Linked DNA regions of Homo sapiens: all the other regions are linked to region 1. Evidence: promoter capture Hi-C in human tissues and cell types (Jung and others, 2019). All regions are on one chromosome and are shown on one strand. Each heading gives the region's core, a stretch centred on a gene start or on the middle of the fragment in contact. The rest is flanking DNA. Distances are from core to core; before and after follow the strand shown.

Evidence for each region. The method cuts DNA at HindIII sites, captures the fragments that hold promoters and counts their contacts. A contact is called where the count stands out against the background at its distance.
Region 2: a contact is called between a fragment that was not itself captured here and the fragment with the promoter of MXD4 in region 1, in 4 of the 25 tissues and cell types used here (H1 embryonic stem cells, IMR-90 fibroblasts, dorsolateral prefrontal cortex and 1 more).
Region 3: a contact is called between a fragment that was not itself captured here and the fragment with the promoter of MXD4 in region 1, in 1 of the 25 tissues and cell types used here (dorsolateral prefrontal cortex).
Region 4: a fragment that was not itself captured here is called in contact with the fragment with the promoter of MXD4 in region 1 in 1 of the 25 tissues and cell types used here (dorsolateral prefrontal cortex).

What each region holds. Positions count from the first base shown.
Region 1 is chr4:2,257,712-2,264,457 of GRCh38, forward strand. It overlaps MXD4 (MAX dimerization protein 4), which reads right to left and starts at 4,398. Exons shown (of 6, transcript NM_006454.3): 1 at 4,206-4,398; 2 at 4,014-4,113; 3 at 271-300. The coding sequence starts at 4,269. RefSeq lists enhancers at 2,925-3,517, 4,749-5,410, 5,411-6,070 and silencers at 3,618-3,677, 3,688-4,077, 4,168-4,227, 4,278-5,117. The HindIII fragment of the contact is 28,165 bases long and covers 1-6,746 here.
Region 2 is chr4:2,630,444-2,637,189 of GRCh38, forward strand. It overlaps FAM193A (family with sequence similarity 193 member A), which reads left to right. Exons shown (of 21, transcript NM_001366318.2): 5 at 492-726. Among named protein-coding and RNA genes, the nearest start is that of FAM193A, 97 kb to the left of the region's middle. RefSeq lists enhancers at 49-550, 551-1,050. The HindIII fragment of the contact is 4,088 bases long and covers 1,125-5,212 here.
Region 3 is chr4:2,581,419-2,588,164 of GRCh38, forward strand. The region is part of intron 1 of FAM193A (family with sequence similarity 193 member A); the gene reads left to right. Among named protein-coding and RNA genes, the nearest start is that of FAM193A, 48 kb to the left of the region's middle. The HindIII fragment of the contact is 8,650 bases long and covers 1-6,746 here.
Region 4 is chr4:2,535,046-2,541,791 of GRCh38, forward strand. FAM193A (family with sequence similarity 193 member A) reads left to right here and starts at 1,602. Exons shown (of 21, transcript NM_001366318.2): 1 at 1,602-2,125. The coding sequence starts at 1,871. RefSeq lists silencers at 486-645, 2,016-2,305, 2,356-2,515, 2,517-2,811, 2,556-2,605 and 3 more. The HindIII fragment of the contact is 7,680 bases long and covers 1-6,746 here.

The sequences.
Region 1 (6,746 bases), core at 3,148-5,647:
CAAGGGGCCCTGCTCCACATCTCTCACCCCCACCTGGATGAGCTCTGGAAAGCAGGGCCTGGGCCTCCTGCCATCTCCTGCCTCTAGCACAGAGTGCCTGAAACAGACCTCAGCCTTCTCCTCCAAGTCTGACCATTCCCAAGACAAGGACACAGCCTGGCAGCACGGCTGGCCGTGCCCGGGACAGGGGCAGGCTCAACGCACCACACACCCTCAGTAAAAGGGTGGGCCAGGTGTCGGGCTCATGTGGGGAACTGGGGGGTCACTTACCTGTGCTTTTCTAGCTCGTTGTGTGAAGACCTGTTTAGAAAGACAGAAAGACAGAGCTCACTCTTCTGCCTGCCCACCAGGGCACAGAGAGCAGTGCTCTCCTAGGGGGCCAGGACCTGCAGACAGTGGCTGGCTGTGTCTGGGTCCTGGAATGGCCCAGAGCAGTGAGGCCTGGGGCAGGTGAGCAGTTGCCCACCCAGGGTGGGGGGAACCACATGCTAAGGGTGGGCGCTGGTTGTCAGCTTTGGGTACTCCGTGCCGGGGGAGCCGCAGCTCACGCCCTGGAGTTCTCCATGGGTCAGGGACTTGGTTTGGTGAGAAGCAGCAGCAGGGGCCAGCCTTGCTTACAGGGAGGCCCAGAGCTGCAGGCAGGTCCAGGGCGCCCAGGGCCACCAGCCCACCTAGCAAGGCCCGTGGTGAATCTGGCTGACAGGAGGACCTAGGCCCCCTTCCAGAGGGATGGGGGAGGCCCAGGGAGCAGCAACAGGTCCTGGCGCTGACCCCCACCAGCCACCTGCCTTCCCTGCTCCCCAATCCCTGAGGCCAGCTGTGTCCTTGGAGCCAAAGCAGCCTAGCACCCGGGACAAACAGCAGGTGGAGATGGAGCCCAGAGACCAGGCCCTCAGGACACAGGTGGTCCTGTCCTGACACCACCACTCTCTCGGGCTCACACACCTGCGTGACCACAGCCCACCTTACCAATGGGGACCAGGGACACAGCAGCGTCAGCCAGGTCAGCCCATGAGGGGGCTTCTGAGATGTGGATGCTTCCCAGGCCAGTAGGCACAGGGGGACACTGAGGCCAGCCCTCCCACTTCCCTCAGGGGCTGTGCTAGCAGGATGGGCTGCCCTGGAGGCCCGGGCTCAGCTTCTCTGGGGACAGTGGCCCCACCTGCTGCTCACCTGTCTTGCCCATTCAGACGCGGGCACACAATTCCCAGCACCACAGGGTGTGCCACAGCATCTGCCTGGAGGATAACGAGGCAGGGGGACCTCGCTCCCAGCTCCAGGCCACCTTCCGTGTCCAGGCAGGACCCCACAGGCCAGCCAGGGCTCCCGGGCCTCCCAGGATGCCGCTGCACAGGTGGGCAGAGAGCTCAGACTGCCTCGGGGCACCTCCAGACCCAGCCCTGAGGCCTCTCCCTGCCCTCAGGACCTGGCTCCTTCCTGAAGCTTCTTGCTGACCACTGCCTGCTTCAGGAACTTGGGATCTGGCGTCTCCTGTCCCAACCACTCAGGCCAAGGGCCTGCCCCTCCCACCCGCTGCACCAACAGGCCCTGGGCCTCCTTGTGTAGCCTCAGCAGAGCCTCCAGACCCAGGTCTCAGGGTCCGGGAGGGCCTGTTGGTCACATGGGCTGGACAAGGAGCCTCCGAATCACTGCCAGGGCCAGCCAGGGCCGACCAGGGCCAGCAGAGGCCACAGCCATATGCTCCTCACTGGCCTCACAGAGATAGGCCCCTACGCCAGCGTTTCTGCTTCCCCAGAATAGGCAGGCCGCAGGAATGAGCCGTACTCTCTGTCCTCAGCCCAAACTGCAGCCTGGCCACGTGGGTCTGTAGTCAAGAGGGAGGTCGGGGTCAGCAGGTGCCCTTCAACATAAAAGCCTACCTGCCTACCCCTTGAAGGGTGGCACGGGGCTGGACCCCACCCTGGAGGCAGGGGGCCCTCCTCCAGCAGCCAGGGCCCCTCTTGCAGCTCCTCCTGGGCCCAGAGACCCTTGGGGTCCATCGAGGGGGATGTTTGCAACATGGGTCCCAGGAGCACTCTATCCCTCAGGAGAGGTGGGACCTGTCCCCGCTGAGGCCAGGCCAAGTGCGTTCCCAGCATTCCCGTGACCCCAGGAGACAAGCACACTTCCCACAGAATGGACCCCCCTGCAGGCTGGCCCCAGTGCTCTGCCGCCTCCCTCAACCCTGACACTGTCCTCCGGCCCCACTCCCTACCCTTGCCCCAGCCTCACTGTGCCATGTCCCCTCCCTCACCTTGGCAGAGCATGGAAGCCTCACAGGTGGGGACAAGTCAGGGGCTCAGAGATCCTCTGGCCCCCTGCTCCGCCCAGCTACTTGTCTGGGCTGGCTGAGGAAACCTCCAGGGCAGTGCTGCCCACCCGAGGAAGGGGCCAAGCCGCCAGCCCTGGGCTGCCTCAGGCCCCGGGGGAGCGGGGCTCGGCCCAGAGGAGCCAGGGGAGATGCACCAGAGTTGGGGAGCCCTCTGTCTCCCTCACCAGTGCCCCCATGGTCTCTGTCCCAGCAGAATGTGGACAGCTGGGACCCCATCTCAGGAACAGGCGTCATCAGAGATGGGTGAGTGGCAGGCAAGTAACCAAACCTCTCCTTGCCTCAGTTTCCTTGGCCATAGAGATAAAAATCACATCACCTCTCTGAGCCTGGGGTGAAGATGAACTGGCTGCATGTGTGAAACGCTCAGCATAGAGGCAGTGTTCGGGCAGCCTTGGCCAGGACGCTGGTTGTCAGCTTTGGATTCTCCATGCTGGGGGAGCCCCAGCTCACGCCCCAGAGTTCTCCACGGGTCAGGGACTTGGTTTGGAGAGAAGCGGCAGCGGGGGCCGGGCTTGCTCACTGAGGAGGCCTGAGGCAATGGTTCCCTCGTCACACTCCTGTCCTTCCCCAAACTGTCCCCAGTAGGGGACCAGGGGCTGGGACTCAGGGACGGGTCCCAGCCAGGGCAGCTGGAGACTCAACCAATTCCTCGCCTGGCTCAGGATGCCACAGAAATGGGTCCCTACACCAGCCTTTCGGATTCCCTAGAACAGGTGGACCACAGGAATGAGCCATGCCCTGGGGCTCTGAAGCCCCCTACAAACGCAGCTCCCAGCCTGCTCACACAAAAGGGCTGGGCCAAGGTGGGCCCAGACAGGACCAGGTGTGCTATGGTCCTCACAGCAGCCAGGAGGGTGGAAATCCCCGGGGAGCCCCGGCCCAGGGTCCCCACTCCCCACGCGGGGGACCTGTACGCACCCCAGCTTCAGGGCTTCTGCTGCCTGAACACGAGGTCAAGGTATGGAGGGCGCAGCTGGCACCCGTAGTAACGACTTCATGGGGCCCCTGCCCTGCAGCCTGCCCCCTCCTCCCGCCCCCTTAAAAGGCCTCTGTCTTAAAAAAGAGGACCCCCATACTGGTGGCTGGAGTTTCGCTGTGTCAGGAGGCTGGGCAGAAGCGGTGGGCACCCTGGGAGGAGTGAGGGCCCAGGACAGCGCCTCCACTCGCTTCTCTGTCTAGGCTCCTGGGGGCGGGGGAAGGTGGCCGAGCAGCAGAGTTCGGCTGGCAGAGCCAGTCGAAAGGAGGCCGCCCACCCACCCGCGGAGAGAAGGGGTTAGGGCCGGCAGCCCCCGCAGACCCTGGCTGAGCCTGTTTCCCCAGACCCACGGGGCACCGGCCAGCGCCCGCTGACAACTTTTCTACCGCCTGGAAAAGTCCAGAACAACTCGGGGGCGGGGAGCGGGCGCGGGAGCGGACCCCGGCGGCGGGCGCTGTACGCGTGGCACTGTTTACGCGAGCGGCCCGGGAGGCGCGGCCGCGGGAAGATGGCGACGGCGAGGGCGGGGCCGGCCGGGCGGGGCTGCGGCCGCGGCCTGCGCGCCTCCTCCTCCAGGCTGGCCGCCGGGGCGCGCGGCGGCGGCGCTGAGGGCCGCGGGCCGGGAATCGGGGCCCGGAGAGCACGCTCCGGGCGGGGGCGGGGGTTCGGACCGGGCCGGGCGGGGTCGGGAGCGGGGGGCGGTACCTGTTGTTCGGGGCCTTGCGCACCAGGCCGGCCGCCTTTGTTTTCTCCCTGGCGAAGTCGCCGTCGAAGGGCAGCACCGAGGCGTAGCCGTGCTCGGCCTCTGCGGACACACGGCGCGGTCAGCGGCCCCCGCCCGGCACGGCCCCGCCGCCCGCCCACCGCCGCGGGCGCACAATGGGGTGCGAGCGCTACCTCGATCCCTGCGCTCCAGGTACTCGGCCGCCTCCAGCAGGATCAGCAGGGAGTTCAGCTCCATCCTCCCGCCCGCGCCCGTCCGCCCCGGGACGGCGGCGGCCGCTGCCCGGCCCGCTCCGGCCGGCTCCGCTCGCCGCCCACCCCGCGCGCCCGGCCGCCGCACTTCCAGACTCCGCGGACTCCGGCGCTCGGCCGCCACCCTCCGCCTCAGGCCCTCAAATTGACACATAAGGGAGAGCGGCGGCCCGCAGAGCCAATGGGAGGCGGCGTTCGCGCCCCGGGGGCGGGCGCCGGGCCGGGCTGGGGCCAATGGGGACGGGTCGAGCGCCTCGGGCCGGGCCGAGAATGTTGACAGATGCAGAGCTGGGCTGGGATAGGCCGGCCGCGCTAGTAACAATTTAGAAGCCCGAGCTTAGCAACAGCACGTGGTGGCCCGGCCCCCGCGCTAGCTGACTGGCGGCCGCCGTGCATGTTAAGTAGGCGCCGCGCGCCGATTGGCCAGAGCGGCCTATGTAAAACAGGCACTGCGAGCCAATGGCCGGTGGCGGGGCGCGCGGCCAATGAGGGCGCCGCAGCCGGACGCGTTGCCGAGAGGAAGCGCAGCGCGCGGGGACCGCCCGCCGTCCTGGGGGCCCGTTAGGACGCAGGAGCGTCTCCGCTACGAGAGCGAAGCAGGGCGCTCCGGGGCGTGCGCCGGGCCGGGCCGGGCCGCCGGGTCTGAGCGCGACGAAAGCAGTGGCTGCGTGGGGGGACGAGGCCTCGCGCTCTGCCCGGGGGTCTTGCGTGGGGCCGTGAACGACTCCCCTCCCCGCCGGGCGCAGAGTGGCCCCGGGAAGGGCCGGGACCTCGGAGAGGGACGCAGACGCTCTGATCCTAAGAGCCAGGCGTCTCTGAGGGTGTCAGTGGGGAAACAGGCCCAGAGCGGGCGGGCTCCTCAGATCGCCCAGTGGACGCCGGAGCTGAGGGAGGGCCCAGGTCTGGGGAAGGGACACAGACGTGCGGCCAGAGTCGAGAGGCTCCCCGGAGTGGGGGGCTGCATGCTCTGTGTCTGGCCTGAGGGGCAGGGACGTTCCTAGAGGCAGGCGCTGGCCACCTCTGGCCGAGGACGCCCTAAGTGGGGACGGGAGTGAACCCTTCATCAAATCCCAGCTGGCGGGTCTCCCTAGTGACCCCTGACCCTAAGGCTGGCCCAGACTGGCCTCGGCACCCCCCACCCTCTCGCAGATTTTTTTTTTTTTTTTTTTTGAGACGGCTCTGTTGCCCAGGCTGGAATGCAGTGGCGTGATGTCAGTTCACTGCAACCTCCGCCTCCCGGGTTCAAGCGATTCCCCTGCCTCAGCCTCCCAAGTAGCTGGGACTACAGGCGCGTGCCACCACGCCCAGCTAATTTTTGTATTTTTAGTAGAGATGGGGTTTCACCATGGATGGTCTGGATCTCCTGACCTCGTGATCCGCCCGCCTCGGCCTCCCAAAGTTCTGGGATTACAGGTGTGAGCCACCTCGCCCGACCCATCTCACTGATTTGATTTTTGAGGTTGGTGGCCTGGATGTGCCAAGGGCCAGGCCCCGCAGGCTGGAGAGTGTGGAGGCATAAGGTGGCTGGACCCCTCCAGAAGTACTCAGTGGGACACAGGGGCTGCTGCTGGCAATGAAACTGAACAAAAAATGCAAAACCTCAGCACCAGGACTCCTGTGAAAGCTTCGTGTGCATCTCCCTGTGTTTTGCATGCCCGGCTTGCAGATCAGGACATGGGACTAGACGCTCAGGGATTTGCTGGGGTCTCCCAGAAATCTCAGCAGAATGGAGATTAGTGCTGCCACACACGGCTCAGGGCTATAGGAATGCAGAGGCCAGAGCCTCCTGGCCTGGCTGGTCCTGCTGGGTGTAAGCCTGTGGTGTGGGCTTCAGAATAATGTGTGTTCCCACAGAGCCCTGCAGGACCCAGTGGGGAACTCGGACACTGCTATGAGACAGCCCTGCATGGACATTGAGACAACCCCCTTGATGTTAGCAGGGGCCCTTCCTGTTCCCGCCCCACAGTGACGCCAGGGCCCAAGGCAGAGCCCCTCACAAGAACTCAGCACTGAGGCCCTCCAGGTTTGTCTGCATGGCTGCTCAGAGCTGTGCATGGTAAAGAAAGGTGCCCAAGTCTGGGGAGGAGCAGGGTGTGTTTGGGCTCTGGGGACCCAGCTCTCCACTTGGGGATGAGCATTTTGCAAAGTTGCCCCATCCCTGCTTTGGCCACTGGGTGAGTTGCTGCCGACAGCTAAAGCGGACACCTGGCCTAGTACAAGTGCACCTGCTGGGCATAGTGCACGCCCCCTTCCTGCCATGGGCCAAGAGATTTGTTCTGTGTGGCAGTGGGCAGCACAGGTGCGCAGGTGTGTCTATGGGGAGGCACCTGCATGCTACCCCAGTCTAAGAGATTTTTAGCCTCAATTTAGGCCATTTAAGGACTCACCCTCACCTCCCCACCACACTGAGGACCAAGCACTTCCCTGGTGTCCCTGGGCTCAAACCTTGCCTGGTAGTGTGGG
Region 2 (6,746 bases), core at 1,919-4,418, 370 kb after region 1:
TCTGCAGCCAGGTGGCACCTCTCCTGGGATCAGTGCTTTTTACTTGTTAACATATAAGCCTTTAAAAGAGTTGTCCCCAGCCTCGTGTCTGAGCATGTTGTCTGGGGCCAGCTGCTGAGAAGTGGTAGCGTGCTCTTCCAGCTGTGTGAGTTTACGCAAGTCACCCAACCTGTGTGGGCCAAAATGTCCCCTCTGTAAAGCAGGCACTGAACCCACACACAGCGAACTGAATTAGTGCACGTGCACGGACAGTGCTGTACAGAGAAAGCTCAATAAATGTCACTTGCTGTTCCCTAGTGACACTCTGTGCCCCGGATTCCCCATCCATTAGGTGGGGTGATTGTGCTTCTCACAGGTGGTTATGAGGAAGGTGACTGTGTGGTCATCTAGAGGTGGCCACCTGTGGAAGGGCTTCAGAAAAGATGCTCACTGACATCAGAGCACCCATGGGCCCTGGTGGGCAGGCCCTGGTGACCCTCTTCTCTGTGCAGGCTCTGCGAGAGGGACCCCTACCAGCTGTACCAGCGTCTGGAACAGCAAGCTCGAGAGTATGTGCTGGAGATGAAGGTCCGCCTGCTCCGGCAGCTGTCGGCTGCGGCCAAGGTGAAGGCACCATCTGGCCTGCAGGGCCCGCCGCAAGCGCACCAGTTCATCTCCCTCCTGCTTGAGGAGTACGGCGCCCTCTGCCAGGCCGCACGCTCCATCAGCACCTTCCTTGGCACTCTGGTAAGAGAGAAAACGTGTTTTTCTTTCTGTTTGGATGAGCTGAAGAGAAGCATGTGGCAAGAGGAAGCTTCTCACGCATGTGTGCCGACCTCGCTGTCACACCCCCACACACTGTGATAGGCCCCTCTTCTCTACGGGAGAGGACCTGTTTCCTCTCCTCTTTGTCTTTCCTCTGGACTTTGCCACTGGATAAAAGCATTGGGTGGATTGATAAGCAGGTGACACCTCATGGTAGTACTGTTTGGAGGACCTTGAGGCCCAGGGAACGAGGCATGGGGGCAGTGTGAGGGGAGCACTGATGTGTGCCTTTATAAGGAGACAGAGAAATCTCCGGTGTCTTACTTAGGTTGTTCATTCTTTCGTTGCTGTAGACAGAGCTGGTATTAGGTGAAATGCCCATGAAGAGCATGAAGGCTGTAGAGAACAGCTTGTTTACCGCCCAGTGGCGTTCATTCATTCATGCAGGCATGCATGCACTCAGCAAGCCAGCACTGAGTTAAGGATCTGCTTGCAGTCTCAAGACAGGCCCTATCACCATCCTTGCCAATGGGGATCTGACAGTCCTAACAAAAGAGACACACAGATGGGTCCGGTTGCCTCAAAAGAGGAATCACTACATTGGGTGGAAGGAGCATGGTATAGAAATATGGTTACAAGTAGGCTGCGGTCAATCCTCAACAGCCTCAGTGCCCCCACGCTTTGGAAGGAGACCAGAGACAAGCCCTCAAAGCTTCCTTGACTGTTACTAATAGTCTATGGAGTTTTTCATCACTTAAACTTTATTATTAAATAATACTTAACTGTATTTGGGTGCTAGTTTTGGGTGCTTTCTTTCTTTTAATAAAGAAAAGGAATTTATTTCTCATGGTTAGGAAGGCTGAGAAGTCTAAGTTTGAGGGGCCACATCTGGTGAGAGCTTTCTTGCAGGTGGGGACTTGGACTCTGAACAGAGTCCAAAGGTGGTACAGGGCATCACATGGCGAGAGGGCTGAGCATCAGTTTTGGGTGCTTTCTTAGTGGTAAACCTACATTTTGAAACAAATACAGTAAGCATTGGCCTTGGTCTTTATCTGATTCTCAAGTTGATGGACCCTCTTAGAAAAATTTACATACAGCCCGGGTGTGGTGGCTCATACCTGTAATCCTCGCACTTTGGGAAGCCAAAGTGGGAGGATCACTTGAGCCCAGGAGCTTGAGACTAGCCTAGGCAACATGGGGAGACCCCACCTATACCAAAAAAATTTAAAATTAAATTAACCAGGCGTGATGACGCATGCTACTCAAGAGGCTGTGAGGCAAGAGGATCATTTGAGCTCAGGGTTGAGGCTGTGGTGAGCCAGTGTACTCCAGCTTGGGAATAGAGTGAGATCCTATCTCAAAAAGAAAAGAAAAAATTACATACATGTAATTGTAAGTCATTTCAGGGGGTTCACAGACTTCCTCAAGCTTCACTGCGCCAAGCCATGGGGAGGTATCTATTCTGAGAAGAGGTAGCGAGGTGAATGGGTAGGGTGAGGGGTGGGGGTGGGGCAGGGGGGCAGTTATCCTGTTTCAAGGTCTGAGTCCACTGGGTAGTGCCACCAGGCTTCCTTCTGGTACCTCGTCCTTCCTCTGGCATCTCTCGCAGCACAGCCTCCCCGTCTCTACCTGAGAGTCTGCCTGCCCTTCAGAGGTTCAAATCCAGAGCCCCTCCTCTGTCTTCTACAAGAACACTGGCTCAGGTTAAGAAGGATGCTCTCCAGCCCACCTAAACCTGGTGCCCAGAGAGACTCTGGTAGTGAAGACAGCAGCTGTTGCTGCTCTCCAGAAAATGCTGGCGAGGTCTGCACCTCCTCAGATAGTTACTGTAGGATACTGTTTTATGAAGCTGACAAAAATTAATTTGAACCATATTTATTAGAGCAAATTCCTAGCAGTTGACATAGAAATAATTTCTTGTGGCTTGAGGCCGGGTGCGGTGGCTCACGCCTGTAATTCCAGCACTTTGGGAGGCCGAGGCAGGCAGATCACCTGAGGTCAGGAGTTCAAGACCAGCCTGGCCAATATGATGAAACCCCGTCTCTACTAAAAATAACAAAAATTAGCCGGGCATGGTGGCGGGCGCCTGTAGTCCCAGCTACTCGGGAGGCTGAGGCAGGAGAATCACTTGAACCCGGGAGGCAGAGGTTGCATTGAGCCAAGATTGTGCCAGTGCACTCCAGTCTGGGCAACAGAGCGAGACTCTGTCTCACACACAAAACAAAACAAAATAAAAAAGAAATAATTTCTTGTGGCTTGAAAAAAATGCATACACCCAGAAGCTGTTTGATTAGTGTCTTTTTTCACTTCCTTTACACATAGAAATACCCACATTGATTTCTAGGGGTCCAGCAGACTAGATACCCTTAACTATTCCTTCCTCCAAGGGAAACAACTGAATTTACTAGATAATAAAAAAATAAGCCAGGCGTGGTGGCTTACGGCTATAATCCCAGCACTTTGGGAGGCCGAGGTGGTTGGATCACCTGAGGTCAGGAGTTAGAGACCAGCCTGGCCAACGTGATGAAACCCCGTCTCTACTAAAAATGCAAAAAATTAGCCTGGCGTGGTGGCACGCGCCTATAATCCCAGCTACTTGGGAGGCTGAGGCAGGAGAATTGCTTGAACCTGGGAGGTGGAGGTTGCAGTGAGCCGAGATGGGGCCGCTGCACTCCAGCCTGGGCAACAAGAGCAAAACTCCGTCTCAAAAAAAAGATGAAATCTTTTAAAGTGTATGGCTGAGATGGCATGAAAGGGAGTAAGTCGTAGTGGTGAAAAACCAATTGAAAGCTGGAATCCTGAGAAATACATGGGCTTGAAAGTCAGCATTTGCTGTGGGTATTTCTTCTGATCCTGGGAGACAAGAGACAACCTAGCCCAGGATGGGGTCTGCACATAATGCTGGGACTGTAAGTGACGACACTAGTAAGGTTGAAGTGGAAACTCCGAGCACCGAAAGGGACAGCAGGGATCTGCAGCTCTCGTGGCCTTGGGGTGGAGATGCAGGGAGTACAGCTTCCCAGAGACTTGGTAGCTGTCAGCCAGCTGCCACATGAGCTGGAGTGTGAATAAATGTTGGTGTGGTATGAACAGCCCAAGCCTGGAAGTTACTTTACAGTGGTCCAGGATTGCTGGTAAAGTCAGGCAGCATGCAGATCACCTCTGGAAACCTTCAATCTGACCTCAGAGAATTCGAATAGATAAAATCCCCCCAAATGAGCAGCTCACAGTAAAAAAAGTCATAAAACACAAGGTTCATGACAGCACAGTTAAAAGCCAGCAGAAGCAGTAGACAGAATCACATAACAAAGATATTTAAATTTTCAAAAAAGAATATAGAGTAACTTTGTTAACTGTGCTTAAAGAAGCTTTGTAAAAGTTTGAAATTGGGAGTTAAGGATTAATACTCTAAAGAATGATAATTCAGATTTGAAAAAATATCAAAACTAGAAACAAAAACTTTTTTTAGAGATGATAGCTGAGAAATTCTCAGAATTACTGAAAAATACTAGTGTTCAGCAAGGAAACGTATCAGATTTCCCAAGTAAGATGTTGAAAAATCCTTCTCTGGTTATAGTATAATGACAGCTACAGAACATCAAAGAAAAAGTGATCTCAAACACAAAACACAGGACTTTGTTGAAAATGGTCTGTGAGATGTTATAATGTGTAATTCTGGATTCTGGGTAGAGACTACAATGAATCTATGTACTCCTTACCCAGATGCGCAGTTAATCAGCATTTTGCCACTCTGACTTCATTATGCCTTCTTTTTCTTCCACTTTCTCTTCCCTCTTTTTGATGCAGTATTTTAGTATGGGTCCCAGACAATGTGCTTTTTGTCTTAGAATATTCCAATAAGTGTCTCTAAAAATAGTCATCCATTATCTTCTGTAGCCACAGTTCCATTGTCACATCCATGAAGACTGACGGTAATAGTAATTTCTTACCGACTAATGCCAGCCAATCTCTTTTTATGGTTGGGTTATTCCAATCAGGACCCAAAAATCTTCACAAATTCATAGCCACATTATTACACTGCCATCCAGTGATCTATGCAGCACCAGCTTAAGATAAACTCGGTGTCTCAGGGCAGTAATTCTCAACAGTTTTGGACTTAGGCCCCTTTATACTTAAAAATTTAGGACCCCGAAGTGTGCTTTTTTATGCAGACTTACATCAGTACTTGCTGTATTGAAATTCAAACTGAGAAAATTTTTTAAATGCTTATTGTCATTTTAAAAATGTAAACTCTCATTAGATTACATAAATTGCATATTTTAACATATATTAGAGAATGTAACAAATAATACACTTTTACATTAGATAATGTAACATAAATTACATATGTAAAAATAACTATTTTCCAAAATAAAACATTGTTGCCCAGGCTGGAGTGCAGTGGTGAGATCTTGGCTCACTGAAACCTCTGCCTCCCCAGTTCAAGCGATTCTCCTGCCCCAGCCTCCCAAATAACTGGGATTACAGGTGCCTGCCACCACATCTGGCTAATTTTTTTGTATTTCTTTTAGTAGAGATGGGGTTTCACCATGTTGGCCAGGCTGGTCTCGAACTCCTGACCTCAGGTGATCTGCCCGCCTCGGCCTCCCAAAGTTTTGGGATTATGGGCGTGAGCCAGCGCACCCGGCCAACATATTTCTTAAGAAGAGTGGGTCACTCACACCTCTCCAGATCTCTCTGTAAAAGCAGTGGGAGTCTCATCTGCATTCAGTCTGTTGTCATAGGTTGTCTGGTTGAAGTTATTGAAGAAAATTCAACTTTTTACAGATAATGTAGTTGGAAAAAGGACGAATTTTTTTTTTTTTGAGACGGAGTCTTAGTTGGAAAAAGGAATAATTTGTCTTTTTGTGTTTTTTTTGAGACAGAGTCTCACTCTGTCTCAAAAAAAAATCTCGCTCTGTCTCGCTGTGTCCCTCATGATCTCGGCTCACTGCAACCTCTGCTTCCTGGGTTCAAGTGATTCTCCTGCCTCAGCCTCCCGAGTAGCTGGAACTACAGGTGGGTGCCACCACGCCAGGCTAATTTTTTGTATTTTTAGTAGAGTCGGGGTTTCACTGTGTTAGCCAGGATGGTCTCGATCTCCTGACCTCGTGATTCGCCTGCCTTAGCCTCCCAAAGTGCTGGAATTACAGCCGTGAGCCACCGTGCCCTGCCAGGAAGAATATTTTAATAGCCTCTTCAAATCCTGATAGATCTTCTCTGAGAGTACACCAACGCGGGAGAGTTTCTTAATGGTTAGTTGCGATGTAGAGTCTGAAACTGTATCACTGAACTTACCCTACTCTGTTCCGTTAAAATCCACAGGCTCCAGCTCACCCCATGAATGGATTCTCTACTTATACATGGTTTGCTAGTGTCATTCATAGGTCATTTTGCAAATATTGATTCACTGAGTATCTTCTGGATGTTGACAGTTTTATTAATATAAAAAATGATATTTGTTTATATCAGCACTGATCTCATCAGAAAGCTCTTTAAATGTGTAGGATCTTTCAAGCCAACAGCAGCAAATGCAAATTTTCTAAAGTTTTCTTTTTTGCTTGAAAGCTTAGATTTTATGATTAGCCACAGATTGTGTCACTTGTTTTCTTTGAAGCAACATGTTAATTTGCTGTGCAAACTCTGCCAGCTAGTTAGCTCTTCTGAACAGCACCCCCATTCTACTTGTTTTTGCTGAACTCACTGGATACTCTTGGACATAGAAAGGTATTCTCAGAAATGCAACTTTACTGGAGAATGCCCTCACGTGAGGTTTATTCCACACTGCCTGGGGGATCAAACAGGATAATGAGTCATATTTTTTGTATTTACTTTAAATATTAAAGTAAAATTGGGGGAGTGGGCATGGTGGCCCACACCTGTAATCCCAGCACTTTGGGAGGCCAAGGTGGGTGGATTACTTGAGCCCAGGAGTTCAAGACCAGCCTGGGCAACATGGTGAGATCCCGTCTCTACAGAAGATACAAAAATTAGCTGAGCGT
Region 3 (6,746 bases), core at 1,661-4,160, 320 kb after region 1:
GATTTTTTTGTATTTTAGTACAGATGGGGTTTCACCATGTTGCCCAGGCTGATCTCGACTCCTGAGCTCAGGCAATCCGCCTGTCTGGGCCTCCCAAAGTGCTGAGATTACAGGCGTGAGCCACCATGCCCAGCTTCTGAAATACTTCAACATTTTATGTGGGTTAGGTATGCTGGCAATAAATTTCCTGTTTTTGTTTGAGAAAGTCTTTCTCCTTTATTTTATTTATTTGTTTTTATTTTTTTGAGACGGAGTCTCGCTCTGTCTTGCTCCAGCCCGGGCTGGAGTGCAGTGGCGTGATCTAGGCTCACTGCAGGCTCCGTTTCCTGGGTTCACACCATTCTCCCGCCTCAGCCTCCCAAGTAGCTGGGACTACAGGCCCCCGCCACCATGCACGGCTAATTTTTTGTATTTTTAGTAGAGACAGGGTTTCGCCATGTTAGCCAGGATGGTCTCAGTCTCCTGACCTCGTGATCTGCCTGCCTCGGCCTCCCAAAGTGCTGGGATTACAGGCGTGAGCCACCGCACCTGGCTCTTCTCCTTTACTTTTAAAAGATTCTTTTTCTGGGTATGGAAGTCGTAGTTAAAAGCTGTTTTTTTCTTTCAAGATTTTAGAGAAATTACTCTCTTCTGGTTTTTATGGCTTCTCACAAGAATCCTGCTGTAATTGTTTTTGTTCTTCCATGTGTAATGTTTCTTTTATCACTAGCTGCTTTCAGTCTCTCCTCTCCTCCTCCAGCCCCCTTTCTTTTCGAGACAAGGTCTTGCTCTTTTGCCCAGGCTGAAGTGCAGTGACATGATCACAGCTCACTGCAGCTTCGACCTCCCAGGCTCAAGTGTTCTCCACCTCAGCCTCCCAAGTAGCTGAGACCACAAGTGTGGTCTAATTTTTTAAACTTTTTTGTAGAGATGAGGTCTTGCTATGTTGCCCAGGCTACTCCTGAACTCCTGGGTTCAAGCAATCCTCTCACCCCAACAAGTGCTGGGATTACAGGCACGAGCCCCATCGTACTTGGTCAGTGTTTATTTCCTTCCTTCCTTCTCCTTCCCTCCTCTCTCTCTTTCTTTCTTATTTTCATAGTCTTAGTTGCGCATGACTTTTGTCCTAATTAGTTGTGTATCCAGTTGTCTTTTGTTTTCAGAAGTAAAGAAGTGATAGGACCAGGTGTTTTTTTGTTGTTGTTTTTTAACGTTCTCTGTGCTTCTTGGATCTGCAGTTTGGTGTTTGTCATTAATTTTGGAAAATTCTCAACCGTTATTTCTTCTGCTGTTTAGAGTTGGCCTCAGTTTATTATTTGCTGTGTGTTATGCAGCACAGGCTTTGAATGTTTGTAGAGGCGGCTTGGATCTAGGATGAGGAGTGTTTTACCATGGCAGTGTTTGAAATTCTGTCTTAAGTCTTCTTTCTTTGTTGTATTTCACAGGAGGTTTCTTTGCATATTCTTCTCCCAGTTGTATTCTGCTGTTGGCTGTTGTTTGAAGCTTTTTGACTTGGAAGTGTGTAGCGGTAGTGAGATGCTGCCTCCTTTTCTGGTTAAGGCTCAGTTTTTTGTTGTTGTTATTTTTTGAGACGGAGTTTTGCTCTTGTCTCCCAGGCTGGAGTGCAGTGGCACGATCTCAGCTCACTGCAACCTCCACCTCCCGGGTTCAAGCGATTCTCCTGCCTCAGCCTCCAAAGTAGCTGCAGGCACCTGCCACCATGCCCAGCCAATTATTGTATTTTCAGTAGAGACAGAACCCTGTCTGTCTTTGACCACATTGGCCAAGCTGGTGCCAAACTCCTGACCTCAGGTGATTTGCCTGCCTCGGCCTTCCAAAGTGCTGGGATCATAGGCGTGAGCCACTGCGCCCGGCCAAGTCTCAGTTTTAGACATGTCTGGTAACCCTGGATTTCAGAGGTGCAGCTGTCTCAGTTCTTCTGCCTTTTCCCTGGCTATAATTTTGGACTCAGTGTGTAATCCTGCCCCTTTTGCAGGACTAGGTCTCTCCTGTCCCTCTCTTCCCTTCCCCCTGCTGCCCCCAAATTAGGACTTTTGTTTCTGAGTGGAGATTGAGAGGAAGGATTTGAGTGGAATTTCTTTCCCCTCCTTCCTGGCTTCTGGTCCCCTCCCTGAGTTCTGCGCTACTGTCTTTGCTTCTTCGGGCTCTTTCAGATCTTTTCAGTGATTGCCTCATGAGTGCCACGGAGAAAGAGCCTGCAAAGTAATGCAGGCTTTCCCAGTTTCTGCAGTTGCCAGAAATTGTCCTGACAGCCTGTACTCAGCCTTTCGCAATTTGTCTTTTATTCTTGCTGAACTCTTCTTACTAGTGTGTCTGATTGTGTCTACCCCAGGTGAGTGTATTTGTTTTCTTTCCCTGAAGGCACTTAAGATTATGGGCCAGTGTTTGTTCTGTAACCACAGCTCTCCAGCAGGTTCAGAAACAGTCATGGATATGAAGTTAGTCTGGCTGTTTTGCACTGTAAGGTTGAGCATTATGCTGTCCCAGGTCTCTTCATCCTAGGGCAGAAGACAGAAGCAGCCATGTCTTGAGGAACAGAAGTTTTTTGGTGTAAGTCCAGTTTACCAATTTTTTTAATGATTAGTGCTTTTGGGGTCTCAAGAGATCTTTGTCTACTCCAAGGTTGGGAAAACCTTCTTCTTTGTTTTCTTCTAGAGGTTTTATAATTTTAGCTGTTATATATAGGTCTGTGATCTATTTCAACTTAATTTTGGGTATGGTGTGAGGTGAAGTTGGAGGTGTCCCCCACTCCATATTCATATCCAGTTGTGTACCATTTATTGAGAGATCTCTCCCTATGGAATCACCTTGTTCATTTGTCCTTTAACAATGTTCTTTAAACAACATTTCTTAAAAAAATTAGCGGTGCTTGGTGGCTCGCACCTGTAATCCCAGCTACTCAGGAGGCTAAGCAGGAGAATCGCTTGAACCTGGGAGGCAGAGGTTGCAGTGAGTGAAGATTGTGCCACTGCACTCCAGCCTGGGCGACAGAGTGAGATTCCGTCTCAAAAAAAAAAAAAAAACACCCATCTCTAAAGAATATTTCTTACTGTTAAATACTATAAAAATGCATAAAAGTAATGTACAGGTTTGCAAATTAATTTGACCCCTGGTATAAGCACCATTCAGATAAGGAAATAGAACATTACCAGGACTCCAAAAGCCTGCTAAAGGCTACTACTCGATTACAGTTTCCTTTCTTTTCCTTTCGTTAAACATACTAAATGGCAGGGTGCGGTGGCTCAAGCCTGTAATCCCAGCACTTTGGGAGGCCGAGGTGGGCAGATCATGAGGTCAAGAAATCGAGACCATCCTGGCCAACATAGTGAAACCCCATCTTTACTAAAAATACAAAAATTAGCTGGGCGTGGTGGTGTGTGCCTGTAGTCCCAGCTACTCAGGAGGCTGAGGCAGGAGAATTGCTTCAACCCAGGTGACGGAGGTTGCAGTGAGCCGAGACCGTGCCACTGCACTCCAGCCTGGCGACAGAGCAAGACTCTGTCTCAAAAAAAGGAAAAAAAAAACAAACCAAAACTAAACATCCCAACACTATAGTTTTGCCTGTTTTTGTACCTTATATAAATGGAAGCATCCATACTGAATACGGTATATAACTTGTCTCACCCAACAATATTTGAAAGATTTATTTGTTTTGAACTTAGCTATGGTTTATCCATTTTAATTCCTGTATAGTATTTCACCATATAGATGACTGTTCATTCATTCTACAGTTTATGGGTTATTTCCAGTTTGGGACTGGCATGAATACTCTTGTACATGTATTTTGGTGCATACAGGACTTAATATGAGGAAAGATAGATATCCAGAAAAGGAATTACTGGGTCATAGTCTACATGTATTTTCACAGTCTTCATGTAATGCCTATTTCCCAAAGTGGTTATACCTATTTTCACTCTACCAGCAGTGCTTGAGAGTTCCCATTGTTTCATGTTTTTGGCTGAGCGTGGGTTTTGTCCTAATTTTTTGTTTCAGCCTCTCTGGTGGGTAAATGGTGGTACTATGATTTAATTTATCTGTGATATCTGTGACATATGTTTATGTCTATGGACCATTTGGGTCATCTGTTGTGAAGAACCCGTTCAAGTCTTTTGCCCAATTTTTTCAGTCAAGTTGTATATCTTTTTCCTATTTTTCTCATTTTTCACTTTTTTTTGTCATTTTTTTCATTTTCTTAATGTTTATCAAATAGAAGTTTTAAATTTTAGGCTGGGCATGGTGGTTCATGCCTGTAATCCTAGCCCTTTGGGGAGGCCAAAGTGGGCGGATCACCTGAGGTCAGGCGTTCAAGACGAGCCTGGCCAACATGGCAAAACCCCGTCTTTACTAAAAAATACAGAAATTAGCTGGGTGTGGTGGCGGGCACCTGTAGTCCTAGCTGCTTGGGAGGCTGAGGCAGGGATAATTGCTTGAACCTGGGAGGTGGAGGTTGCAGTGAGCCAAGATTGTGCTACTGCACACCAGCCTGGGTGGCAGAGTGAGACTGCATCTCAAAAAATAAATAATTTTTAAATAGTTGAATCTGGGCTGGGTGGGGTGGCTCATGCCTGTAATCTCAGCACTTTGGGAGGCCGAAGCTGGTGGATCACTTGAGGTTGGGAGTTCATGACAAGCCTGATCAACATAGAGAAACCCCATCTCTACTAAAAAGACAAAATTAGCCAGGCGTGGTGGTGCATGCCAGTAATCCTAGCTACTGGGGAATCTGAGGCAGGAGAATCACTTGAACCCAGGAGGGAGAGGTTGCAGTGACCTGAGATGATGCCATTGCACTCCAGCCTGGGCAACAAGAGCAAAAACTCCGTCTCAAAAAAAAAAATATATATATATATAGTTGAATCTGTTGATCTTTTCCTTTATGCTTTAGTGCTTTTGGTGTCTTGAAAATGTTTCCCTTTACCCAAGGTCATGAGGATATTATCCATCATCTTTCACATTTAGGTCTATAATTAAAGAATTGATTTTTGTGTATGGTGTGAGATAGGGGCCCAGTTTTTTTTTCCCCCCGGTTTGGGTATCTAGTTGTTCTGTATTAACTTCAATTTAAAAGGCCATTCTTTCCATAGTATTGTAGAATGCCATCTTGGTTATAAATTTAGTGTATGTGTTTCATACCTTGGTTATAAATTTAGTGTCCGTGTATCATACCTTGATTCTATATTCCTTCGTCTACTTTTCTATCCTTGAGCGGCCAGTACCACACTCTCTGAATTATTATAGCATTTGTTGTTGTTGAGAACAGGGTCTTGCTCTGTTGCCCAGGCTGGAATGCAGTGGCAGGAGGATGGCTCATTGTAGCCTCAACCTCCTGGGCTCAAGCAATCTTCCCACCTCAGCCTCCTGAGTGGCTGGGACTACAGGTGCATGCCACTATGCCTGGCTTATTTTTAAATTTTTTGTAGAGACGGGGTCTCCCTCTGTTGCTCAGGCGGTCTTGAACTCCTGGGCTCAAGCAACCCTTTCACCCAAGCCTCCCAAAGTGCTGGGATTACAGGAGTCAGCTGCCATGCTCAGCCTAGTATAGCTTTTTAATAAGCCTTAATAGGCGTTCTGTATTGTTCTTCATGAATGTTTTGGTTATTCTTGGCCCTTTATAATTTTATGTGCTTTATGTGAAATTAAACTTCTGTATCTTAGTCCGTTTGTGTTGCTATAAGGAATACCTGAGGCTGGATAATTTTGCTCCTGGTTCTGCAAGCTGTGTAAGAAGCATGGTGCACAGCATTTGCATCTGGTGAGAGCCTCAGGTTTTTTCCACTTACGGCACAAGGTGAAGAGGACCCAGTGTGTCCAGATGACATGATGAGAGAAAAAGCAAGAGAGATGGGAAAGGAGGTGCCAGGCTGTTTTTAACAGCTAGCTCTCAGGGAACTAATGGAATGAGAACTCACTCAGTGCTGGAAAGACAGCACCAAGCCATTCATGAGGGACCTGCCCTCATGACCCATGCACTTCCCATTAGGCCCACCTCCAGCACTGGGTGTGGTGGCACGTGCCTGTGGTCTCAGCTGCTCAGGAGTCTGAGGTGAAAGGATCGCTTGAGCCCAGAAGTTCGAGACTAGCCTGGCGACCTAGCAAAACCTCGTCTCTGCTAAAAATACAAAAATTAGTTGGGCATGGTGGTGCATGCCTGTAGTTCCAGCTACTTGGCAGACTGAGGCAGGAGGATCACTTGATAGCCCGGGTGGTGGAGGTTGCAGCGAGCCAAGATCGTGCTACTGCAGTCCAGCCTAGGCAACAGAGTGACCCTGTCTCAAAATATGTAAATAAAAGAAAAAGAAAAAAATTTTGAAAAGAAAGAGCTGGGGTGGACAACTCTGAAGGAATTCACTGAAAAGGAAGGAAAAGATAGGCAGTGAGAGAAGCTGGGGCAGAAGTGCTACTGAGAGGAGATCGTTGTGTTTCTTCAGAGTGGGAGACAGCATATTTGCATCCTAATGGAAGTGATGCAGGAAAGAAAGAGAAAGTGATGATATGAGAAGAGGACAGAATCAGTGGTCCTCAAGTGGCGACAGGGTGGGGTCTGGTTGTGAAGAGCTAGTTGGAGGACATTGGAGAGGAGGGCACAGGCGCAGGTCTGCGGATGTGTGGGAGCTGTGAAAACTACTGCCAAGTGCTTTTCCAAAAGATTGCTGGTGCTCACACCACCCTCAGCAGTCTGTGAATACCCATCTTCCTTTATACTCCTCAGCACAGAGTCCATGTCCCTGTTCTTCCCTCCTGGGCAC
Region 4 (6,746 bases), core at 1,994-4,493, 280 kb after region 1:
ACCTTTTGTCTTTGGGGATACTGGTGACATCATGAATCCCAATCCTGTGCAATGTGCTATGACAAAGGAAAGGACAGGGGTTGAGGCAAGGGGCAGGGACAGCCTATGACACTGAAAAAGAGGCCAGAAACGCATTCCTACCCGCTCTCTCAAAATCCATGTTCAGTGGCAGGATCATCCAAGACCCTGATGGGGCGGGGGGCCTTTTTTCGTCTAGGATGGTATCTGAATGGCTTTAAGGGTAGCTTTCTTCTGATCACATGAGATTTCTGCTTGTGTCATGAAGAATGGGTCAGAGGATCAGGAGGCTGTGGCTGCAGCTGGGGCGGGTTGCGGGGACCCAGGACGAACAGTAGAGCTCGGTTAACGCTGCAAGGGGAGCCTGGCAGGCCGTACATCCCAATGCCAAGCCCGCCGCCTCTCGGCCTGACACCACCGGTGGAACCAAAAAGGGGAAATCATGTCCTTTGTGCCTCTGTGTCTGTGGTAAGCGGGGCCCTCCAGGGGGCGGAGCCGCCGGCAGGGTCCCCCCGTGGCCCGGGTCTCAGGGCAGAGCTCTGCCTGGGGCTCGCAGATGTCTGCAAGGCCGCGGAGGGAGGAGGGTCCAGACGCAAGCCCTTATTTCTGATCTGGACGTCTGCGAGGGTCTGACCCGGCTAGTCGTCCCCGAGGTGCGTGAGTGCGAGGGTGTGGGACACGGCCGGATCGTCCTAGGGCCCCGTGGATTAGCAAGGCACCGGGACCACTGGAGAGGGCTTAACGGGATAGCAGGGAGAGGGCGGGCTCGGGAAGAGCACCCTTTAGGCGAGGGGTTCTCGGGGAACCGACCGGCGTGTCCCAGCCCCAGGCCCGGTCCAAGATTCGCCGGCTCCGCCGCTGCCTCCGCACCCAGGCGGACCCCACCGCACCGCGCCCGGCTTTCCAGCGCTGCCCGAACCCCCGCCCAGCCCACGAGGCAGGGATTCTGTGGTCCTCACTGAGTCATCTGGACCAGAACTAGACTAGCCCAAGGTCACCGGGCGTTCCTGGCGAGGCCAGGGCCGCGCCGCGCCGCCCCTGGTGCATCCCGGGAGCCGCGCCGGTCTGCGGCACCTGGGCGGCGGACAGGGGCGCGGGCGAGGCGGGCGGGGCGGGCGGGCAGCGGACACCGGTCAGAGAGGCGGAACTCCCTGCCGCCAGCCGTGTAGTTTGCCTCGCGGGCGGCGGCGCGGCCTCCTGCCGGCCTAGCCCTACGCCCGACCACAACGCCCAGAAGGCCGCGCGGCGCGGGCGGGACCTGCGGCGACGAGCGAGGCGGTGACATCACCGCCGCATCCAGCTCCCTGGCCCCAGCTCCTCCCAGCGCCCGGGCCCTCGGCCTCGCAAGGCCTGACGGGAATCGTGGTCCACCCCCGGGTACCCCCAGCTGCTGCACGGGCAGCACGGACTTCAGTTCCCGGCGTGTCCTGCGCGCCGAGGCACGTTAACGGCAGGAGGGGGTGGGCAAGCAAAGGGAAAAGCAGAGCCGGGGGGCGGAGTAAGGCGGGGTGGGGGTGGGGGGTGGGGGCCCACACCCCTCCCCCTCCCCGCTGCTCCTTCCCCCTCCCCCGACGTAAACTGGGATCCCTTTCCCCTTGTGTCCGCCATATTGGACTCTAACTCTGGTCAGCCGCGGCGCCGGGACTGTGGACTCGCGGTTCCTCCCGCCCAGCGGCCTGCCCCGCAGCTCCCGCCCGCCCCAGCCCTCCCCGACCCGGACGCGACCCCGCGCAGCGCCCCCCGGCTGGCCGGAGCGCCCGCCGCCGCGGCCGCCTCAGCCTCCCCGCCTTCCCCGCCCTCCGCCGCCGCCCGCGGCCCCCGCGCCCGCTCTGCGCCCCTCTCCCCGCCCGCCATGAGCCCAGCCGACGCCAAGCGCGGGGCCAAGCGCCGGAAGAACAAGCGGGGCGGCGGCGGCGGCTCGGGCGGGGGTAACGGCGGCGCGAGCAGCGGCAAGGCCGGCCCGGCGGCGGCGCTGCGCGGTTCCCAGGCCGCGGGCCTGGCGGCCCCGGGCAGCGCGGCAGGCCTGGTGGGCGGCGCGGCGGCGGCCAACGGGCCTCTCGGCGCGGGCGCGAGCGCGGGCGGCGCCGCCCCCGGAGGCTACTTCGAGGTAAGCGGCGGCAGCGGGCAGGGGTCGATGGCGGTACGCGGTTGCCGTTCCCTCGCGCCTTGGCGGAGCTCGGCCTCCCGCTGTCGGCCCCGGGCCTGGGAGCGGGATGCTGCGGGCGGGCGGATAACGGGTCCTGCGGCGCTGCGCTTGCCGAGGTCCCGGGGCAGGGCGGCAGGTGGGCCGTGCTCGGCGTGACGCGGCCTCTGTCAGCCTCTTGAGAGGAGAACCTGAGCAGAGGCGGCGGGAGGGCTACACCGGGGCCGCCGCTCACGGCGACGGGCTGGTCCGCAGGCTGGAGCAGCCCCTCAACGGGCGGGGACGTCTCCGGGGTGCAGCTCCGCGCACGGCGCTTCGCCTTCCGCTGGACCCGGCGGGTGATACCCGCGAGGCCCGGGCTTCTGTCGTGGCGCCTCGCCCGCTGCGGCGGTTCCAGAGCGACTGCGATTCCGGGAGTGAGCAAAGCTGCCCTTTCGCTCCCAGGGCTTTGAAATGTTTCTCTGGCCACCTTCGTTATTCCGTGCGCGTGATGATTGAGAAGGGCCTCCCGGAAGTTTTCCTTTGGTCCTCCTATGTGGTTATTTGAAATCTACCTGACAGCCACCTGGAGCTGGCAGCCCTGGCCCCTCCTCCCCCGCTTTGTTAAGTTTTCAGGGGTATTTAGTGGTTTGGTTACTCAGGTATGTATTTAGGGTTCGAACTTAAGGAATTTGAAAGGTGATTTTTTTCAGTTTTGTTTATGAAGACAGCTAGCACACATTGCACCTACCAATTATGGATTCCTGCCACTTTTATTCAACCGTTGGTCACAACATTTCAGAGGGTACACTATTTATAAGTGGGTATGCAATTGGCGCAGTCATTTCCAGTTATCCCATTGTCTGCTGAAAGAGAATAGATTTTTTTTGAAAAGTTGCGTTCTTATAATGTTATTTAAACTCTTAAATTATGTAGTTTTAAAGATATTGCAATTAAAAAATGAAAGAAGCGTTGGGAGTATTTTTGTGCTAAATCATGACACAAATTGTTCTTTTTTTTTTTTTCTTTTGAGAACGGAGTCTCGCTCTGTCGCCCAGGCTGGAGTGCAATAATGGCGCGATCTTGGCTCACTGTAACCTCCGCCTCCCGGGTTCAAGCGATTCTCCTGCCTCAGCCTCTCGAGTAGCTGGGACTACAGGCATGCGCCACCATGCCCGGCTAATTTTTGTAGAGACAGGGTTTCACCATGTTGGCCAGGCTGGTCTCGAACTCGTGATCTCAGGTGATCCGCCCACCTTGGCGTCCCAAAGTGCTGGGATTACAGGTGTGAGCCACCGCGCCCGGCCGTTTTTATTATTATTATATTGTTACATTAGGGTCTTGGGCTGTAGTCCTGGACTTCAGTCTCCCGAGATTGCCCTCATCCAGTATCCTGGAGATCAAAACAGGCCGCAGTTCTTGGGATCAAGGATGAGTCTTGAGCGTTTGGATCTTTGGGGTTTTTAAGGGCAGTGTTTGCTGCTGTCGGGTAGGGGAGGGCGGGGGGGGTTTGCCTGTGCATATCCTTACACAAAATATTGATAATTTTTGGTGTAGCTGGATGTGGAATATATTCATTTCTATTGATTCAATAAAAACCAGTTGGTGGCACAATAAAATTCTTAGTTTTAGCCTTTCATACCATTTCAAGTTTTAATAATTTACATTTGCTTTGCAATACTTAGGTAAAATATAACTTTATTATTTTTATTTATTTTTTTTTGAGACAGAGTCTCACTCTGTCGCCCAGGCTGGAGTGCAGTGGTGCGATCTTGGCGCACCGTAACCTCTGTCTCCCGGGTTCAAGCGATTCTCCTGCCTAACCCTCTCAAGTAGCTGGGACTACAGGTACCTGCCACCATGCCTGGCTAATTTTTTTTGTATTTTTAGTAGAGACAGGGATTCACTATGTTGGGCAGGCTGGTCTTGAAGTCCTGACCTCCTGATCCACCTGCTTTGGCCTCTCAAAGTCCTGGAATTACAGGCGTGAGCCACCGTGCCCAGCCCTGCCTTTATTATTTTTGTCGCGTTATTCAAAATCAGATAACTGTATGCCTATTATTATTAAGATAGGGTCTTGCTATGTTGCCTAGGCTGGCCTTGAGCTTGTGGGCTCAAGGGATCCCTCTCATCTTAGTTTTACTAATTACTAAGGGCACAGACCCTTGCCACTGTGCCCACCTGAGTATTATTTTTGACAGGACTGTGATATTCTGTTAAACTAGTATGCATCAGGGTTTTGTTGTTTTAAAAGAGACACGGTCTCTCTCTGTTGCATAGGCTAGAGTACAGTTGCCTGGTCATAGCTCACTGTAACCTCCAATTTCTGGGCTAAGCAGTCCTTCCATGTAGCTAGGCCTCTAGGTATGTGCCACCATGCCTGGCTAATTTGTTCTTTTAATATAGATACAGGGTCTCACTATGTTACCCAGGCTTGTCTTGAACTCTTGACCTCAAGTGATCCTCCCATCTCTGCCTCCCAAAGTGCTGGGATTACAGGCCTGAGCCACTGCACCTGGCCTATCAAGGTTTTTGACCATGACCCACTCTTATGACCCACTCCAAGAAATAAAATCCGTTAAGATCTAGGAAACATACACATAAACACAAAAATTTCACAAAACATTTTAGGGCCGGGCACCGTGGCTCATGCCTGTAATTCCAGCACTTCGGGAGGCCGAGGTGGGTGGATCACCTGAGGTCAGGAGTTCGAAACCAGCCTGGTTGACAGATGATGAAACCCCAGAGATGGTGAAACCCCGTCTCTACTAAAAATACAAAAATTAGCCAGGTGTGGTGGTATGCACTTGTAATCCCAGCTACTCGGGAGACTGAGGCAGGAGAATTGCTTGAACCTGGGAGATGTAGGTTGCAGTGAGCTGAGATCTAACCATTGCACTACTGCCTGGGCAACAAGAGTGAAACTCTGTCTCAAAAAAAAAAAAAAAATCCCATCCTTGTTGACACGGTGAGACCTCATCTCTGCTAAAAATACAAAAAATGGCCGGGCGCAGTGGCTCACGCCTGTAATCCCAGCACTGTGGGAGGCCGAGGCAGGCGGATCACGAGGTCAGGAGATCGAGACCATCCTGGCTAACACAGTGAAACCCGTCTCTAGTAAAAATACAAAAAATTAGCCGGGCGTGGTGGCGGGCACCTGTAGTCCCAGCTACTCCGGAGGCTGAGGCAGGAGAATAGTGTGAACCTGGGAGGCGGAGCTTGCAGTGAGCCGAGATGGCGCCACTGCACTCCAGCCTGGGCGACAGAGCGAGACTCCGTCTCAAAACAAACAAACAAACAAACCCCAAAAAATTAGCCAGGCGTGGTGGCGGGCGCCCTGTAGTCCCAGCTACTCCGGAGGCTGAGGCAGGAGAATGGCATGAACCCAGGAGGCTGAGCTTGCAGTGAGCCGAGATGGCGCCACTGCACTCCAGCCTGGGTGACAGAGTGAGACTCCGTCTCAAAAAAACAAACGAACAAAAACGAAAAAACAGGCCGAGTGCGGTGGCTCACACCTGTAATCCCAGCACTTTGGGAGGCTGAGGCAGGTGGATCACCTGAGGTTAGGAGTTCCAGACCAGCCTGGCCAATGTGATGAAACCCCATCTCTACTAAAAATACAAAGAATAGCCGGGAATAGTGGTGGATGCCTGTAATCCCAGCTACTCCGGACGCTGAGGCTGGAGAATCACTTGAACCTGGGAGACGGAGGTTGCAGTGAGCCCAGATCACATCACTACACTCTAGCCTGGGCGACAGTGCAAGACTGTGTCTCAAAATCCGTCTCAAAAAAAAAAAAAAAAGGGCAGGCGCAGTGGCTGACACCTATAATCCTAGCACTTTGGGAAGCCGAGGCAGGAGGATCAGCTGAGGTCAGGAGTTTGAGACCAGCCTGAGAAACATGGAGAAACCCTGTCTCTACTAAAAATACAAAATTAACTGGGTGTGGTGGCGCATGCCTGTAATCCTAGCTACTCAGGAGGCTGAGGCAGGAGAATCGCTTGAACCTGGGAGGTGGAGATTGTCATGCCAGCTACTCTGGAGGCTGAGGCAGGAGAATTGCTTGAACCTGGGAGGTGGAGATTGTCATGAGCTGAGATTGTGCCATTGCACTCCAGCCTGGGCAACAAAAGCGAAACTCTGTCTCAAAAAATAACAAAAAACAAACAAAATATTTTAATACTTTTCTGATCTTTTCTGTTCCATGTAATCTCATTAATAAAATCTGGGTTATAGTCCACAGAATTAGTTCATTGTGTACTTTTTTTTTTTTTTTTTTGAGACAGAGTCTCGCTCTGTCACCAGGCTGGAGAGCAGTGGCGTGATCTTGACTCACTGCAACCTCCACCTCCTGGGTTCAAGCGATTCTCCTGCCTCAGCCTCCTGAGTAGCTGGGACTACAGGCGCGTGCCACCACGCCCAGCTAATTTTTGTATTTTTAGTAGAGACAGGGTTTCACCATGTTGGCTAGGATGGTTTCTCTTTCTTGACCTTGTAATCCACCCACCTTGGCCTCCCAAAGTGCTGGGATTACGGGTGTGACCCACTGCAGCCTCTCTATTGTGTACTATTGAGTTGTGTGCTGCACCTTGACAGTTGCTTTTAC